Linked DNA regions of Homo sapiens: regions 2, 3 and 4 are each linked to region 1. The links are contacts of gene promoters, found by promoter capture Hi-C in human tissues and cell types (Jung and others, 2019). All regions are on one chromosome and are shown on one strand. Each heading gives the region's core, a stretch centred on a gene start or on the middle of the fragment in contact. The rest is flanking DNA. Distances are from core to core; before and after follow the strand shown. Region 1 holds the start of APH1B (aph-1B gamma-secretase subunit). Region 2 overlaps TLN2 (talin 2). Region 3 overlaps HERC1 (HECT and RLD domain containing E3 ubiquitin protein ligase family member 1). Region 4 overlaps HERC1 (HECT and RLD domain containing E3 ubiquitin protein ligase family member 1).

Evidence for each region. Contacts are between HindIII fragments. The study calls those that stand out against the background at their distance.
Region 2: a contact is called between a fragment that was not itself captured here and the fragment with the promoter of APH1B in region 1, in 2 of the 25 tissues and cell types used here (dorsolateral prefrontal cortex and mesenchymal stem cells).
Region 3: a fragment that was not itself captured here is called in contact with the fragment with the promoter of APH1B in region 1 in 2 of the 25 tissues and cell types used here (adrenal gland and aorta).
Region 4: a contact is called between a fragment that was not itself captured here and the fragment with the promoter of APH1B in region 1, in 1 of the 25 tissues and cell types used here (pancreas).

What each region holds. Positions count from the first base shown.
Region 1 is chr15:63,275,545-63,279,656 of GRCh38, reverse strand. It overlaps APH1B (aph-1B gamma-secretase subunit), which reads right to left and starts at 2,052. Exons shown (of 6, transcript NM_031301.4): 1 at 1,921-2,052; 2 at 326-496. The coding sequence starts at 2,033. It overlaps LOC124903504 (a long non-coding RNA gene), which reads right to left. Exons shown (of 2, transcript XR_007064674.1): 2 at 2,805-3,639. RefSeq lists silencers at 1,746-2,025, 2,106-2,525. The HindIII fragment of the contact is 12,664 bases long and covers 1-4,112 here.
Region 2 is chr15:62,829,698-62,833,809 of GRCh38, reverse strand. It overlaps TLN2 (talin 2), which reads right to left. Exons shown (of 59, transcript NM_015059.3): 55 at 181-306. It overlaps LOC105370854 (a long non-coding RNA gene), which reads left to right. Exons shown (of 7, transcript XR_007064671.1): 7 at 1-4,112. Among named protein-coding and RNA genes, the nearest start is that of MIR190A, 7.8 kb to the right of the region's middle. The HindIII fragment of the contact is 3,371 bases long and covers 697-4,067 here.
Region 3 is chr15:63,680,395-63,684,506 of GRCh38, reverse strand. It overlaps HERC1 (HECT and RLD domain containing E3 ubiquitin protein ligase family member 1), which reads left to right. Exons shown (of 78, transcript NM_003922.4): 35 at 3,731-3,970. Among named protein-coding and RNA genes, the nearest start is that of USP3-AS1, 82 kb to the right of the region's middle. The HindIII fragment of the contact is 3,848 bases long and covers 815-4,112 here.
Region 4 is chr15:63,613,789-63,617,900 of GRCh38, reverse strand. It overlaps HERC1 (HECT and RLD domain containing E3 ubiquitin protein ligase family member 1), which reads left to right. Exons shown (of 78, transcript NM_003922.4): 75 at 1,219-1,471; 76 at 1,981-2,133. Among named protein-coding and RNA genes, the nearest start is that of USP3-AS1, 15 kb to the right of the region's middle. The HindIII fragment of the contact is 3,211 bases long and covers 727-3,937 here.

The DNA.
Region 1 (4,112 bases), core at 803-3,302:
TTGTCTGTCTCTTCCTACTATAATATAAGCTCCATGAAGCCAGAGACTCTGTCTTTTAATCACTGATGTATCCCCAGTACCTAGGATAGTGTCTGGGATTGATTCTCAAGAAATATTTTTTTGAATAAAGGAAGAAAGGAAGGAAATAAGAAATTTCCACAAGATAAAAGAACACTCAAGATTTTCAGGCTGGAAATGTACCAATCTCTTGGCTTAGTACTATGTAGGAGGGCATAGATACAATACTATATTCACGTTTCAAATGACCAAATCATAACTAAAATCTAACTGGGGAAAAAAAAGGTAAGGCAGGTATTTAACTTACTTTAAGAGTTTATAATATGCAAATCGGAACATTTCTTGGATATAGACAGAGACAAACGCTCCAAAGATCAGCAGATATTTCTGTGTTGGTCCATCTTTGTTGTCAATAATGACTCTTGCCATGAACCAAACAAGGGACGAAATCAGTAGAGACACCAACCAGAAGAAAGCTCTGAAAAATACGGGAAAAAAAGTTACAAGTGAACATCAGTACAGGATTAATAATGTTTAAAAGCAGGAAAAAAAAAAAAACCTGCTTGAGAAGGAAGAGATTTCTTGACGTTTCAATAAGGAAAAGAAAGTCCTCATAAAGTGATACTCTGATCAGTTGTTCTTAACGGTGCATTTTCCTTGGTGAGACAAACGTGTCCAAGAGGAAGGCTGAGGTTTCCCAACAATTACTTTTTTCAATGACCCTGCTACTTGCAAGTACATCTGCAGACTCTATCTGCCAAGGACTATCTAGCTAGAAACTTGGTTATTTGCTACTCTTTCTAATCAATGCTCTGCCCATTGATGAGCCAAAACAAGAAAATACACAACCCTGATTACTGCAATTTTCATATTCTTAAAACTTACAAGAAATTATGGATTTACTGATCAGATATCTGCAAAGATGAGTATCTTTTCCAGAAAAATATCTACATCTCTATTAATAAAGTGACTGGTATAAAATTCAACTTGAAAACCTGTGTTCTGATCTGGATCAGTATCCAAGCCCTCCAGGTCTTACAGCACCCCTGGGGATTCTAATGATTATAGCAAGCTTTACAGACCCTTCCCAAATCTCTATTATTTTTAAAATGACATGCAGCGAAGCACTTTCAATACGTTTGTGGGAGGTGAAGAAACGCAGAAAAGCGGGAATCATTGGCCTAGTCTGGTGCCAAGAGAGACTCATCAGAGGAGGGGGGATGTGGTATGTGCAAGTAAGAGGCAGGTGATGACTGCGATGGGACACCAGAGTCCGGTATTTACCAAGCTCCCAGAAGGAGACGCACAGTCAGGTGCTTCGGTGTTTTTACAGGTTTCCACCCTTCGGCTGCACAACGGAACCATCCAAAAGGAGCTTAAATTTTTTTTTTTTTTTCTGAAGCCCGAATCCCATCCCCTAGACATTCTGATTCAATGGATCGGGGTGGGGGTGGGCATCGGCATGTTTTAAAGCACCTGGCCACAGGTGATTCTAATAGGCGGAAGTCGCGCACTACTATCCTAAACGCCAATGGTTTTTAACCCTTTGGGGATTACACATGCCTTTGAGAATCTGAGGGAAATTAGGGACTCCCCCTCCAGAAAATGAAGGATGCATATATGAACTTATCCATAATTTTTTTATACAACTTTAGTAGCTTCACGGATCACTAAACCCCACCCATGAGCCCCAGGCAAAAGGCCCTGACCCCCAGTGTGCGCTTCTTCCTAAGAGGGCGAGGCGCCTTTGGGGAGCCGGATCTCCGCTCTCCCCCTCTCAACCCTCCTCCCGTCTGAAACGCAACAAGGTCGAGCCGCGCGGTGGGGGCGCCGAGGGTCGCGGGTAACCCCAGCGGGGGAGGGGAGCCCCGGCGTCCGGGTTTCCCGACGCGACCGCCTCACCCGGCGATGAGGAAGATGATACGCAACGGCTCGGTGGCGATGGTGAAGACATAAAGGGCGAGCGCAGGCCCGAAGGCAATGAAGGCGCAGCCGAAGAACACGGCCGCAGTCATGGCCACCGCGGAAACCGACCCGGGGGCCCGTTGGGGACGCGAGATGCTCCCGGCGCGGGCGGGGTTCGGTGGGTGGGGCTCGGGGTGGGGGGCTAAGCGGGACGCGGGGGGCGGGGCGCGGCTCATGGGCAGGCACGGGGACGGGGGCGGGGCTCGGGGGCGGGGCACGTGGGGGCGGGGGCGGGGCTCGGAGGCGGGGTACGTGGGTCGCGGGGCGAGGCGGGGCGTGGGGGTAAACGCTAGGGCCTGGGGGACTGGGCGGGGCGTGGGCTGAGGGCGCCGGGCGCAGGGGCGGGCTCAAGGCGGTGAGCGCGGACCCCACCGTTGGGCCCTCCGCCCTACCGGGTGTCCGGAAGCGCCAGGGCCACGCCGCAGCTCCTGCTCCCGAGGCGGGCGTCCTCGGCGACGTTAGGGCCCCAGCCATCGCCGCAGCCCCACAGATACACTCCGATCGGGTTCCAGTGCCGGCCGCGAGGTGGTTAAGAGAAGGGAAGCTCCCTAGCCCACCTTCGAGCCGCATGCACCGAGAACAGGCAGAGATTCCAAGTCAACCAAAGAGACTAAACAAAAATGTAGCGCAGGAACAAGCAGGATTCCTTTTTAAATAGGTTTTTTTTTTTTTTTAAGCACATTTTACCGTTTGGATAGTTGCGGGAACTTCGTACTCCATCCTGTATAAAACCTAGGCTGGGATAGCAGTGACCCCGGGGATAACCCACAGATGGTAAAATGATGAAAGAGTGGTGGAAGAAGCTGCCCTTCTCAGGGCTGTTTCAGCCAAATGGTTTTTATTTTTTTCCCAATTCTTCAAAAGGGTTGTTTTTGCAGGCATTCTGTGACCACCCTACAAGCAATAGTAACATCTCCCTGCTCCGTCTTCTCACAGTCGTCCATTTCACTTGCTTATTTTTCTTCCCCGTTAAAACGCGAACTCCTGGGGGACAGGGACTTTGCTTTGCTCTTTGTTGTTTCCTCAGCACCTAGAAGTTCACTAATATCTGTTCAATAAGTGAAATAATTTAAAAGGTGGAAGTTATAAACATCTATATTAACAATTTCTGAAAGGTTTAAAAATTAAAACTTAAGTTCTCTGATCATTCACATCCAAGTTAGATTTTTCTTTATGTTGAATAATACTTCGTCGGTTATTTTGATCAGTGTGCCTGACACAGGTAAGTGCTATGTAAGTATTAACCACTCCTACATAATGTCCATCATGAATAAAGATTTTGGCAATCCACATTTAAAAAAACACCAGTAGACAAATGTTGGGACCTGACAGATGTTTTGCAGCTCGCCCCTGAAAATGCACCTTCAAATAATACAACTGCAGGTATTTAATTCTTACAGAAAAACATTACCTTTGCCCATTTAAAAGTCATATATATTTCCATTCACTCCCACAGAATACTTCTTCAGATTCCAGTGATTGTATTTTGAATGGTCAGATCCCAGCACAATACCTATCAAAACTCGGGTCGAGACAACAGTTCAGAGTGATAGATCTGCTTTGTAAAGATATGGAAAATGAGCTTCCAGACTGGAGGTCCTCAGTGCAACGCAGGCATGAGATGGCAGTGGCCTGATTCAGGGAATTAGCAGGACTCTGGAGGGAAGCAGACAAATTTAATAGAAGTTTAGGAATTGTACAAACAGAATTTAGTGACTAATGAGCTACATAGAGTGAGATGGGGGAAGAGTCAAGGATGAGGGCTTCTAGAGGGTTCGGGCTTAAGTGGATGCTGTGGAGACAGGAGGAGGAGAGAATATGGCAAAGTAGACACGATAATGAGTACCATTTTGTTATTTTGTTGTTACTGTTTTGGAGACATAGTCTCACTCTGTCGCCCAGGCTGGAGTGCAGTGGTGTGATCTCAGCTCACTGCAACCTCTGCCTCCCGAGTTCAAGCAATTATCCTGCCTCAGCCTCCAGAGTAGCTGGGACTATAGGCACGCGCCACCATGCCTGGGTTATTTTCGTATTTTAGTAGAGACAGTGTGAACAATGTTGGCCAGGCCAGTCTCGAACTCCTGGCCTCAAGTGACTTGCCCACCTCGGCCTCCCAAAGTGCTGGGATT
Region 2 (4,112 bases), core at 1,133-3,632, 450 kb after region 1:
CTTATTCTGTTGGTCTGAAGGCTGTAGTTTTCAGTCGGTCAGCACAGAGAGTGGCAATTCAGGGAGGGAAGGCACTGCATGTGTTTCCTTGGTCAGGACAAAAGCTTGTAGCTCTTTTCCTGGGCCCCCTGAGGCTCTCGTACGTTGAGTGTCCCGCATGTGGTCAGCGGCTTTACCCACCTTTCCTTGGGCCACCAGCTCCCTCTGGGCTGCTGAGGCCGATTTGACCAGGGCGCTTGTGGCAGCAGCAATGGATTTAGCAGCTTCCAAGATCTGTTCCTCAAAGTCCAGGGTCTCATCCGCTTGCTATAACCAAAAGAAAACAGCATCACATTCAATTCATATCCACAAAGGGCTCTTTCTTCCAAACTACTTACTGCCGGGTCACCTGGCTCTTCACCTGCCTATTGTTTTTTGTTGACAAACCACACCTGAAATGGGATGGTTCCTTAACAAGAAGCAGATGACAGGTCCCCTGTGCAAACTTTCAGGACTCTTAAGTCAGTTTGGTTAAGCCACCCTCGGGTCACAGTGTGGAAGATGTGGCTGGTACCTTTCAGGCATTAAGAGACAATGGCCAGGCACAGCAATAGTTTTCTTTGTATGTGTGGTACAATATATATAACACAAAATTTACCCTTTTACCTAATGTTAAGTATTAATACACTGACACTGTTGTACAACAGCAATACCAGGATAGAAAGGTCAGGATGCCTCTCCACCTGCAGCCCCTTCCCCCTAACTCCAAAAGGAAAAAGCCGTTAGCTTGACATCCCACGGAAATTTGCAGACAGACTCATTTTCTGGAACAAAATCTTTAAAGATATACACTCACTGTGAACAAAATACACTCAAATGGTTTTAGCAACATCAATAACTGAAACCAAAATAATAAAATCAAAACAGTAGATCATAGCACTTACTCTCTTCTAGAGCCTAAGCCTCAAAAATGGACTTTAAAAAAAAAAAAAGGAAAGATGGCTACCAGTTCTGAAAAGTTGTCTTTTTCCTGGGTAAAAATCAAAGCCAAACAGCACTGGCATTTCTGTGGCTGAGCACTGAGAGAGTTATAGACCAAGCACACATTGCCCAGTGGTGAAAAAGAAACCAGGGCAACACGACATCAAGGTGGAGCTTGTTCTGTCCTCTGGACACCCGAGGCACGGGATCCACCTTGGGAAGAACACTGGACACCACTGTGTAGGTGTTATCAGACCATTAGGGTTCTGGTCTAAATTCACCACCATCTCCTTTGCTGCTAAAACAACTCAGGAAGTTGAAAAGAAGCTTTGGAGAAGTGGAACAAGTATAAAGACTGTGGTCCCAGGCTCATGGGTTGGAGCATCACAGTTTTGCCGGGGGGTGGTCAGATTAGACCTGTGTGACAACATTCCGTGACTCTAGGTCAATTTGGTTAAGCTGCCCTCAGGTCACACAGTGTTGAAGATGTGGGTGGTACCTTTCAGGCATTGAGAGATGATGGCCAGGCCCAGCAATACTTTTCTCTGTATGTGTGGTAAAATATATGTAACACAAAACTTACCCTTTTATCCAATTTTAAGTGTACAATTCAGTGGCATTACGGACATTCACACTTTGTGCCAACAGTAGTAGATTTTTAAGAGTGCCTACTGTGTACCAAGTATTTTGTTAGGCACTTCTACATACAATGACTTAATTCTCACCAAAAAAAAAAAAAAAGATCGTATATTGGAATTATCTTTATCCTTATTTTTACAGTGAGAAAACCCAGGCTCAGGAAGGTAGATGATTGGGCCAAGGTGATGTGGCAGCATGAAGCATCTAAACCAGAATCTAAACCTAAATCTGACTCCAAAATGAGGCACTTTAACTAGCCAAAGCCACCCCTTGGGGCATCAGTGAGAAACGGTTTGTGCCAGAGGTTCAAAGTCAGCTTGCTAACGCTCCCATGTGAAACGTCAGACAGGAGGGATACAAGTCTTCTCCAGCTCTCCATTCATAATGCCACATCTTGAACCATGAAAGGTGCTAATCCTTTTTCTTTATAACCTACATTATCAAAATACAATTTCAATGCACTTCTAATGGATCTGAATGATGGTAGCATTTCAGAAGTTCTGAGACAGACTTGTGCATTCTTTCTTATTGCTGACCAAGTCTTGCTCTAAGAGTATTCAGGACAGACATGAATTTAGTTCTACTGGACTCATTTTGGACTGGTGGAGTATAGAATTTGGTGACTGAAATACGGAAATGATCCATTGTAAGACACTCTCGTATAAAAGGAACTCTTGTGTAGTCAGTCCCCAAATAAATTATAGTAGGCTCTAATTTATATATATTAAATATATAAATAATGTATATTTTAATAACCGTGAGATTAAGAGCTTTTCTGGAAATTCATTCTGCCAAAGAATGTCAGGCACATAACAGATTAAAGCACCAGGGAAATCACAGAATTTTTGACTCCAAACTCCTCATCTCATTTTGCAGATGAGGAAACGGAGGCTTGTGGGAGCTCTTCATGGCGGCTCCTGAAGTCTCTCACGCTCTTGCCTCAGGTGTCCTCAGCTACTCTATGGGTTCCACGCCCGAGTCCACTTTACAGTGTGGAATACTCTGTCAGACTTTTTATTTCCCAAATTTTAAGATTTTCAAAAATGGAATTTCTTTAAAATTAAGTGCTACGTCTTTAGCAGGGGTAGATCTGATAGGATCATCTCATCACAACTGATTTTACGAGCCTCTCCCACATCTTCCGCTGCCTGGAGTTTTTTTTTTTTTTAAACACAAGCTTGTAATAATAGATATTCAACTTGGAAATATTTTTGACACCCACAGATTTTTCTGGTAATGGCAACTGTTGTAATGTTCTTTGACGAATTTTTATTTTTCTTCCCACAACATCTCTATGCTTTAAAACAGATACGGCAGAAGTTCTTATCTCTGGGAGACATTTGCTCTGATAAGAAAGTATTAAGATTCTCCCTAGAAAGGCTGACTGGGATGGCACAGGGATGGAGGGCTAATGTTAGATACTACAGTTTGGGCAGAGTACCCTGATGAAACCTGCCTTCTGACTGCTGTGTCCCTATTTTCCTGTATGCCAGGTTTATGACTAAGACGCACTGCCCACCCTACCTCTACTGCTGAAATCAGACACCAATACTTAACGTGTCCTCATACCATACAACTTCTAGCCTTAGAGAAAATGGCATCTCTCCAAGCCAAGGAGACATGGTCAAAAACCCAGGTGCCCCATCAGTTCCAGCTCCCATTAGCATGCAGAATGGAATAGGGGAGAAGGTAGGAAGGACACACACTTAACCATATCACAAGAAGGAAACAGAATTGGCTTGGTCTTCAAAGGACTTTCCTAAATAAAAGAATCCCAATTAAAATGCAGAATTTGTTAATGGAACAGTCCCCACTGCAGCTGAGAGACTGGGGAGACTAAGAAGAACAACATGGTGCACAGTGACTCCGGGGAAGAATCTGCAGGCTGGGCCCTCTCCTGGAGCTCTCATTCTCACCTTCTCACCAGAGAGGCTCACCTGGTTGGTGTCTTAAGGCCCTCTTTAGCTGAGATGTTACTGACCTGACCAGGGTCAGTCAGATCTCTCCTTCTGGTTTATAAAGGGGATAACGGAATCCTCGCTTCTGGGTGTTTCATTCTTTCCACAATTGGATCATGTAAAGACCCGCTAAAATAATCTTTTAAAGATTATGACTAATCCTGTGCATGTGGCTATTTATGTTTCTCTATAACTACTGGCATCAAGCTAAAGCAAGGAACTTTAGAAAACAATTTCATTAAACAGGATAAATTGATAGTCTTTAGCCATAAAAAAGAGTGAGATCCTGCCATTTGCAACCACATGGCTAGAACTGGAGATCCTTATGTTAAGTGAAATAAGCCAGGCACAGAAAGACAAACATTGTATGTTCCCACTTATTTGTGGGATCCAGAAATCAAAACAATTGAACTCATGGACATAGAGAGTAGAAGGATGGCTCCCAGAGGCTGGGAAGGGTAGTGAGGGGCTGGGAGGTAGGGATGGTTCATGGGTACAAAAAAATAGAATAAGACCTACTACATGTGACAGCACAACAGGGTGACTATGGTCAAT
Region 3 (4,112 bases), core at 1,489-3,988, 400 kb before region 1:
AAGGGTTGGATGCAAGAGGAAGAGTTTTCACACAAAAACATTTGCATACAACTTAACCAGAAAGGTTAGGAATTGGCCAGGACAAAATTTCAGTTACAGTTTATTTTTTTCAAAATAGGTTTATAAAACCTTCTACATCTTTCGTCCTAATCATTTATCCAGTGGGCAGTCTGGAAAAGATCAGTTTCTTTCTGGGAACAGTTTTATTTAGTAAACTGCTTTATTGGTGTGTCTTGTTTATCAGGAGAAAGGTGAGGGATGTAGAGTCAATTGATCAGTCCCTTGTTGCAAACTGCAACTATTCTAGAAAGCTTAACATGTTGGGACATCACCTAGAGGGTATTGAGAATACAATCTCTTAAAGAGTGTTTGGAAGTATATTGCCCCCAGAAAACACACTCTTTTCGTGGATACCTGCAAGAAACCTGGACAGTCCAGCCAGCATCCAAGATGTTTTTCAGACTTTGTGGCCCCACAGAGGGGGAGTGTTCCAAATCCACAACAGTCCCAGATTTTGAGTTTTGTTCATTCAGCTTGTGCCTGCTTTTAGCTGAGCACAACTCACTTGGGTTGAAATAACCTAGAGCACACAGTGTCAGGTTTTAGCTTATAGTCAGGTCCAGGCAATTAGAATGTGTGAGTTCAGGATTCCAAGCCAGCAGCTTTTTGGGGCAGCAGTTAAATCTAGATGGGGCCAGTTATGGGGGCATGTGCCTATACAGTCCCAGTACTTGGAAGGCAGAGGCTGGAGGATTGCTTGAGCCCAGGAGTTTGAAGCCACAGTGAGCTCTGTTTACACTACTGCATGCCAGCCTGGGTAACAGAAAGAGACCCTATCTCTTAAAAACAAAAACAAACCTTAGATGGTGTAGGACCTGACAATAGTGTTTTAAGTCCAGGCTTGAAAACAAGGCTTTTCTAAGCTCTGTTTGCTTGTCAATCTTGGAGTCCAGATTGACCCACTCAGAAATATGTACTTAGGCTAGAAAGTCATCAGCCTGTAAGTGTTAGACATATGATTTTATAAGAACTCGTTAGCCACTGAATGTTTTTTAAAACTCTAAAAGCATATGTCTATATCTCCATCTAGAGCTTGCCTCTCTTTTATTTTATCTCTGTTTTCCCAGAGACTCCAATAGGAAAAAATCATAGCAAAAACCCACCAGTTATAGACACTTGTTTTGTTTTTAATATAGAGTTTAAATTCCAATCCACCCACTGGTGACAAAAAGCAAGTAAGTTGTGTCCCACTAGTATGTTTTTCTTTTGGAGCTTTCCCTGATCAGGATGAAACTTTAGCATTTATGAAGTTACAAGCTTGTAACATTTTGCATCTTAATTTTTTTTCTTTCTTTTTTTTTTTTTTTTTTTGAGACAGAGTGTAGCTCTGTTGCCCAGGCTGGAGTGCAGTGGCACAAGCTCGGCTCCCTGCAACCTCCACCTGCCAGTTTCAAGGGATTCTCCCGCCTCAGCCTCCCGAATAGGTGAGACTGGAGGCACGCATCAGCATGCCTGGCTAATTTTTGTGTTTTTAGTAGATATAAGGTTTCACCATGTTGGCCAGGCTGGACTTGAACTCCCAACCTCAAGTGATCTGCCTGCCTCGGCCTCCCAAAATGCTGAAATAACAGGCATGAGCCATTGTGCCCAGCCTTTGCATCTTTTTTTTTTTTAATCATACATCCAGATGTAGTTGCCACAAAATAAAGCTGTTTTTAAAAGTTTTCTTCCTCCCTTCTCACATCTTAAGTTTACTCAAACCTCTAGCAATAAATTTAGCATTTACAAGGTAAATTGTGGCAGGGGGAGAACCTGCTGTAGCAATAGCAAAAGCTCAGCTTAAGAAAATAGCTGGAGTAGTTCCTTTCTATTCTTGTTTGTTTGTTTTTGTATATTTTGTAGAGATGGGGTTCTTGCTTTCTTGCCCAAGGTAGTCTCAAACTCCTGGCTTCAAGCAGTCCTCCCTCCTTAGCCTCCCAAAGTGCTAAGATTACAGGTGTGAGCCCCTGCACCCACACTCAAAGCTGTCAGGGGTTTTTGAACCCTTTCCCCTCCCACTGGAGGAGAGAGCAACTACAAGCTAATTTTTCTACTCTGGCTCATCTAAAGCCCACTTGTGGGAATATTTGGGCCCTTTCTCCTCAGGAAAGAAGTTGTTCCTGGAAGAAAGAACAGCACAGTTTTTACCTGAGCTGCTCTTTTTTCCTAACTTTAGCTAGCAAGGCCAAGAGCGTCTGGGGTAGCAAACCAACTCTCTTGTGATTGGATTTATCTTAAAAATTGATAGGTAACTTTTGCCCCTCACAACAGATAGCAGTCCACCTTCTGTTTCATACTATGTGTAACTCCATAGCCACCTAGGTACCAGAGTTTTATCTTTTCCTTTCGTCTCTTTCTTTTTCCCCAGCAATATTTAACTATATTCTAATGCATCAGGGTTGTTCTAGTGAATCTCATTGCTGCCACTGCTAAGTCATGAGTCCCCAAGACCACCCTCACATTCAGAGATTCACTAGAAGGACTCGTCAGACTCCACACGTTGATACACTCATGACGGAGACTTATATTATAATGATGCGGTAAGGATATACACCCAGTTAATAAGGGAAGGACACAGGTGAGGTATAGAAGAATCCTGTAGGCTTCCTTCTGTTCTCTCCCTGCCATGAGCACAAGTGCACAAGCTTTCCCCAGCAAGAAAAATAACATGTGTGTGATGTTTCTAGAGAACCCCATTAGAGATTCAGAACCCAAGGTTTTTACTGGGGGCTGGTCACGTAGACACCTTCAACCTGACATGTACCAACATTTCATACTCCCAGAAGGAGAGCAGGTATTCAGCATAAACCACATTGTGTGTTTAAATGTTCTAGGTCAGTGAGCCACCTTTATCACGTAGGGGAAGTTTTTTTTTTTTTAAATCAGTGTAAGAAACTTTACCAGTCAAATTCCCAGGTCCTAGCCAAAGGCCAGTGTTGCAAGCATGCCTTTTTGAAAATAGTAATAGTCACACTAGGTGTAGTGGCTGATGCCTATAATCCCAACACTTTGGGAGGCCGAGGTGGGAGGATTGCTTGAGGCCAGGAGTTCAAGACCAGACTGTGTAACATAACAAGACCTCATCTCTACAAAAAATAACTAGCCAGGCATGATGGTGTACACCTGTAGTCCTAGTTACTCAGGAGACTGAGGCAGGAGAATTGCTTGAGCCCAGGAATTTGACGCTTCAGTGAGCCATGATCATGCTACTGTACTCCAGCCTGGGAAACAGAGTGAGACCCCATCTCTTTAGAAAATTAAAAACAAAACAAAACAAAACAAAACAAAACAATACACCTAGTCTCAGGCTTAATATATTAACTCTTTTTCTAAACAGAGGTATATGCAAGAGAGTAGTTAAAATCTATATGTAAAGAATTAAAGTTTTCATTAATTTCTGGACTAAACATACTTCCTCAGCTTCATTATTAAGTTGTAAGTTAGAATTGCTTATTTTAAATACTATAGATATTCAAAGGTTATTCTAAATGCCCTGCAAGATAAAGAATGTTTTAAAATCTTTCTAAATTGATGCGATTATTTTCGTGTTATTTTTATTTATGCTGAAAATAACATGTTTCCATAAATGCATTAGTATTATTTATAAACATATTTTCAGTATTGGTTAATGCAGTTAATAGTATATAAATAGATTTTTTGAGTATTAATGAATATCCCACTTTTATTTTAGTTTTATATTGTGAAGGAAAACAGAGGTAATGAAGGCACGTGTGTTGGAGTTTCTCGCTGGCCAGTACATGACTTTAATCACCGCACTACCTCGGATATGTGGCTCTATAGGGCCTACAGTGGTAACCTCTATCACAATGGAGAACAGACTCTCACATTGTCCAGCTTTACTCAAGGAGATTTCATTACCTGTGTGTTAGACATGGAAGCCAGGACCATTTCTTTTGGGAAAAATGGAGAGGTACCGACACCCATTCACAAGCATTACATTTTTCTTGTTTCTATTTATAGTCAACTCGGTTATTCAAGTGCCACGTATTCAGTTTATAGATTATCTGCTCGTCTCTCCTTTCTCTCTAATACTTTCTGGTTCTTAAAACATT
Region 4 (4,112 bases), core at 1,083-3,582, 340 kb before region 1:
ATCCAGAATCTACAATGAACTCCAACACATTTACAAGAAAAAAACAACCCCATCAAAAAGTGGGCGAAAGATATGAACAGACACTTCTCAAAAGAAGACATTTATGCAGCCAAAAGACACATGAAAAAATGCTCATCATCACTGGCCATCAGAGAAATGCAAATCAAAACCACAATGAAATACCATCTCACACCAATTAGAATGGCGATCATTAAGAAGTCAGGAAACAACAGGTGCTGGAGAGAATGTGGAGAAATAGGAACACTTTTACACTGTTGGTGGGACTGTAAACTAGTTCAACCATTGTGGAAGTCAGTGTGGTGATTCCTCATGGATCTAGAACTAGAAATACCATTTGACCCAGCCATCCCATTACTGGGTATATACCCAAAGGATTATAAAACATTCTGCTATAAGGACACATGCACACGTATGTTTATTGCGGCACTATTCATAATAGGAAAGACTTGGAACCAACCCAAATGTCCAACAATGATAGACTGGATTAAGAAAATGTGGCACTTATACACCATGGAATACTATGCAGCCATAAAAAATGATGAGTTCATGTCATGTAGGGACATGAATGAAGCTGGAAACCATCATTCTCAGCAAACTATTGCAAGGACAAAAAACCAAACACTTCGTGTTCTCACTCATAGGTGGGAATTGAACAATGAGAACACATGGACACAGGAAGGGGAACATCACACACTGGGGCCTGTTGTGGGGTGAGGGGAGCGGGGAGGGATAGCATTAGGAGATATACCTAATGTTAAATGAAGAGTTAATGGGTGCAGCACACCAACATGGCACATGTATACATATGTAACAAACCTGCACGTTGTGCACATGTACCCTAAAACTTAAAGTATAATAATAAAAAAAAAAAAAGATAATGATTTTAGAAAACAAGGCATTCTGGAGCAGGTAGCTTAAGATCCTTACATAGTTCTTCTAAAAATAGTTCAGAATATAGTCCATGTGCTGTGTGAAACAATAACTACGGTCCACATGTGGCTTTTGAGAACTCAACGTGTGATTAGGGAAGCCGAAGAACTGAATTTTTAGTTTTATTTAATTACTTTAGCCTTATGTGGCTAATGGATGCCATATTGAACAGTACAGGTATAGACTAACGCTATAGCTGTTGTTGCTAACTTATTTCTAATAGAAATAAGGAAAATGCTGTTTGAAATATTCCCTTTAATTTTACAGGTTCCTTTTTAACCCTTCTGCCTGCCTCGATGAACACTTAATGCAGTTTAAGTTTTTAGGAATTTTAATGGGGGTTGCCATTCGCACAAAGAAGCCTCTGGACCTCCACTTGGCCCCTCTGGTGTGGAAGCAGCTGTGCTGTGTCCCACTCACCCTAGAGGACCTGGAGGAGGTGGATCTGCTCTACGTGCAGACTCTCAACAGCATTCTTCACATTGAAGACAGTGGGATTACCGAGGAGAGTTTCCATGAGGTAAATCCTGGCCAGTCTATGTTTCTACTGGTGTTGACGTCCTATATGCACAGACTAGAATTTTTCTGTGTAAAATTGAGATACAGTCTTCCACTTGCTGTCTGGCTGAACAATGCCATATCTATGCCATTGCTGCCCTTAGCAGCTCAACCGCAGCAGTTTAAACAGCTTCTAATAGAGCAGGCTCCTGCACTTAGTTGCTCCTTCCCCCTTAATTTTTTTCTGCCTGTTAGAGTGAAGAACCAAGGTGGAAGGGGAGGCCTGAGGTCACGAGAGTTCAACAGGCTTGGTTTGTGAACAGAGAGATTTTGTCCCATTTTTAACTACAGCTGGTTGAGTCATCACATTCCTGCTGATCAAGTAGCCTGATCAGTCCTACCTGTTTTGTGTTCCTTGTTTTTATCCTTAAAAATTGTGAGTTTGTTATTGCTGTGCCGTATTTGTATGTAAAATACTTTTTGCTGTCATTTCTACCATGTAATAAAAATTCTGTTTTCTTCTGTTCCTAGATGATTCCTCTTGATTCTTTTGTTGGCCAGAGTGCTGATGGCAAAATGGTTCCTATAATCCCTGGTGGAAATAGTATCCCACTCACATTTTCCAACAGGAAGGAATATGTGGAGAGGGCCATTGAATATCGACTTCATGAGATGGACAGACAGGTGAGATGAAACATCTCGGGAGGTACACATGAATGCTTGGGTTTCTCTCCAAATGAGAGCTGACTGGGTATGCCAAAATCTGCTAATATGTATTTACTGTGTTAATTCCTCTGTATGTATGTATGAATTTATTTATTTTAATTTACTTATTTATTTTTGAGACAGCACCTCACTCTGTCGCCTAGGCTGGAGTGCAGTGGTTCAGTCTCAGCTCACTGCAGCCTCTGCCTCCTGGGTTCAAGTGATTCTCTGGCCTCAGCCTCCCCAGTAGCTGGGACTACAGGCATGTGTCACCACGCCTAGCTAATCTTTTTATTTTTTGGTAGAGATGGGGTTTTGCCATGTTAGCCAGGCTGGTCTTGAACTCCTGGCCTCAAGTGATCCACCTGCCTCAGCTTCCCAAAGTGTTGGGATTACAGGTGTGAGCCACCGCACTTGGTGATTCCTTTGTATTTATATTCCAAACCCTATTCAGAGACTTCTCAGGCCTTTTTCTCCATACCCAGTGCCTTAAATCGGTTCTGAATTGGTCTTTGGTTGGATTGAGACTGTTTTCATCTGGCATTCAGACCTTGCCTTCTTACTCCTCCTTACTCCTCCTTAGTCCTGTTTGTCCTCATGTCTTACTGCTTCCCAGCTCAGCGTCTCCACTCTAGTTGGGTTAGTCAGGGCCCACGTAAATGAACCTTCAAATGCTGGTCTTATGACCTCACATGGATTTCCCTTTCCCTGTCTTGCTGCTGTTCTTTAAGCCTCAGCTAAGAGGGCATCTCCTGCACACACAAGCTTACCTCCAGGTCACCAACCTGTGATCTTTTTCCTTACTTTGAAGTTCCTCAAGATATATCACATACTTCTATGTTATGGTCTAGGAAGTAGGCCCCAGAATTTAGGTCTTGTTTCCTCAACTTGCAAGAAATTGAATGAAGAATGCATTTTCTATTTCATTTGAGTTATCCTTGTTCTGTGCTGACAGGTAAGTAAGCATTTAATAATGGGAGTGTGAATGAGTGACCACTCATGTGGTCATAAATATGGTGTCCAAAAATGGTTCTTTTGATAATACAGTCATTAATAGCATTTCAGTAATACTTTATTTGCAGAATATGTTGGGGTCTTCTCAAGAGCTGGACTCAGGCTGTGAAGCTATAGAAGTTTAGTGATTTGAAGTATACATACTCCATACCCCTCACTCCCAGCTCCTTCTTAGACTTTGGGCCAAGTCCCATCAGAAAAATGATATCTTTAGCCTAGTGAAGTTGGGTCTTGTCAGTGATGCTATTTACACAGCCAGGGATTAGTGTTTGTCTCCAGTTGATGAATATTTTTAATCCTCAGAGAATAAATAACTGACTAGAAATGTATTGATAACCTTCTGCACGCCAGCCATGGTGCCAGGCACTCTTGGGTGCCATTTTTCCCATAGTTACTCTGTGAGGTAAGGATTGCCAGCTCTGTTTCACAGAAGAAAGCACTGAGTGCCCACAGCAGAGCCAAGACCCCAAACCAGGCTCTAAGATGGTGTCCAGGCTTTTCTGATGACCCTTCTTCTGAGGGTTGGATGGACACTCCCTTTCCACAGCTGTGTTCTGCTCTGCCCTGGCTTTGTTCTGTTCTCAGTAACAAGCCCTTCCTCCTCTTTCTTTATATATGAATTGGTCTTTGGTTCCTCTTCATCTCTTAGAACTGAGTGTTTATCCCATAACTGTCCTCAGTTGTCCCCCTGCCATCTCCAAGCAGCCAGCCCCATACCTCAGCCTAATTTTTTTTCCAGACAGCTTTTGTTTTGTGTTCCACCAAGCATAACAGCTTGTTCGTTTTTGTTTTCGTTTGGCAGACTTTGGTGGGGTATTGACCTTTACTATCAGAAGAGACTGCCTTTACTGCCAATCTCTGATCCTTATGGGACAACCTTAGTGCCAGTTTTTTATTATTTTATTTTTTAAGAGAGGGTCTTGCTCTGTCACCCAGGCTGGAGT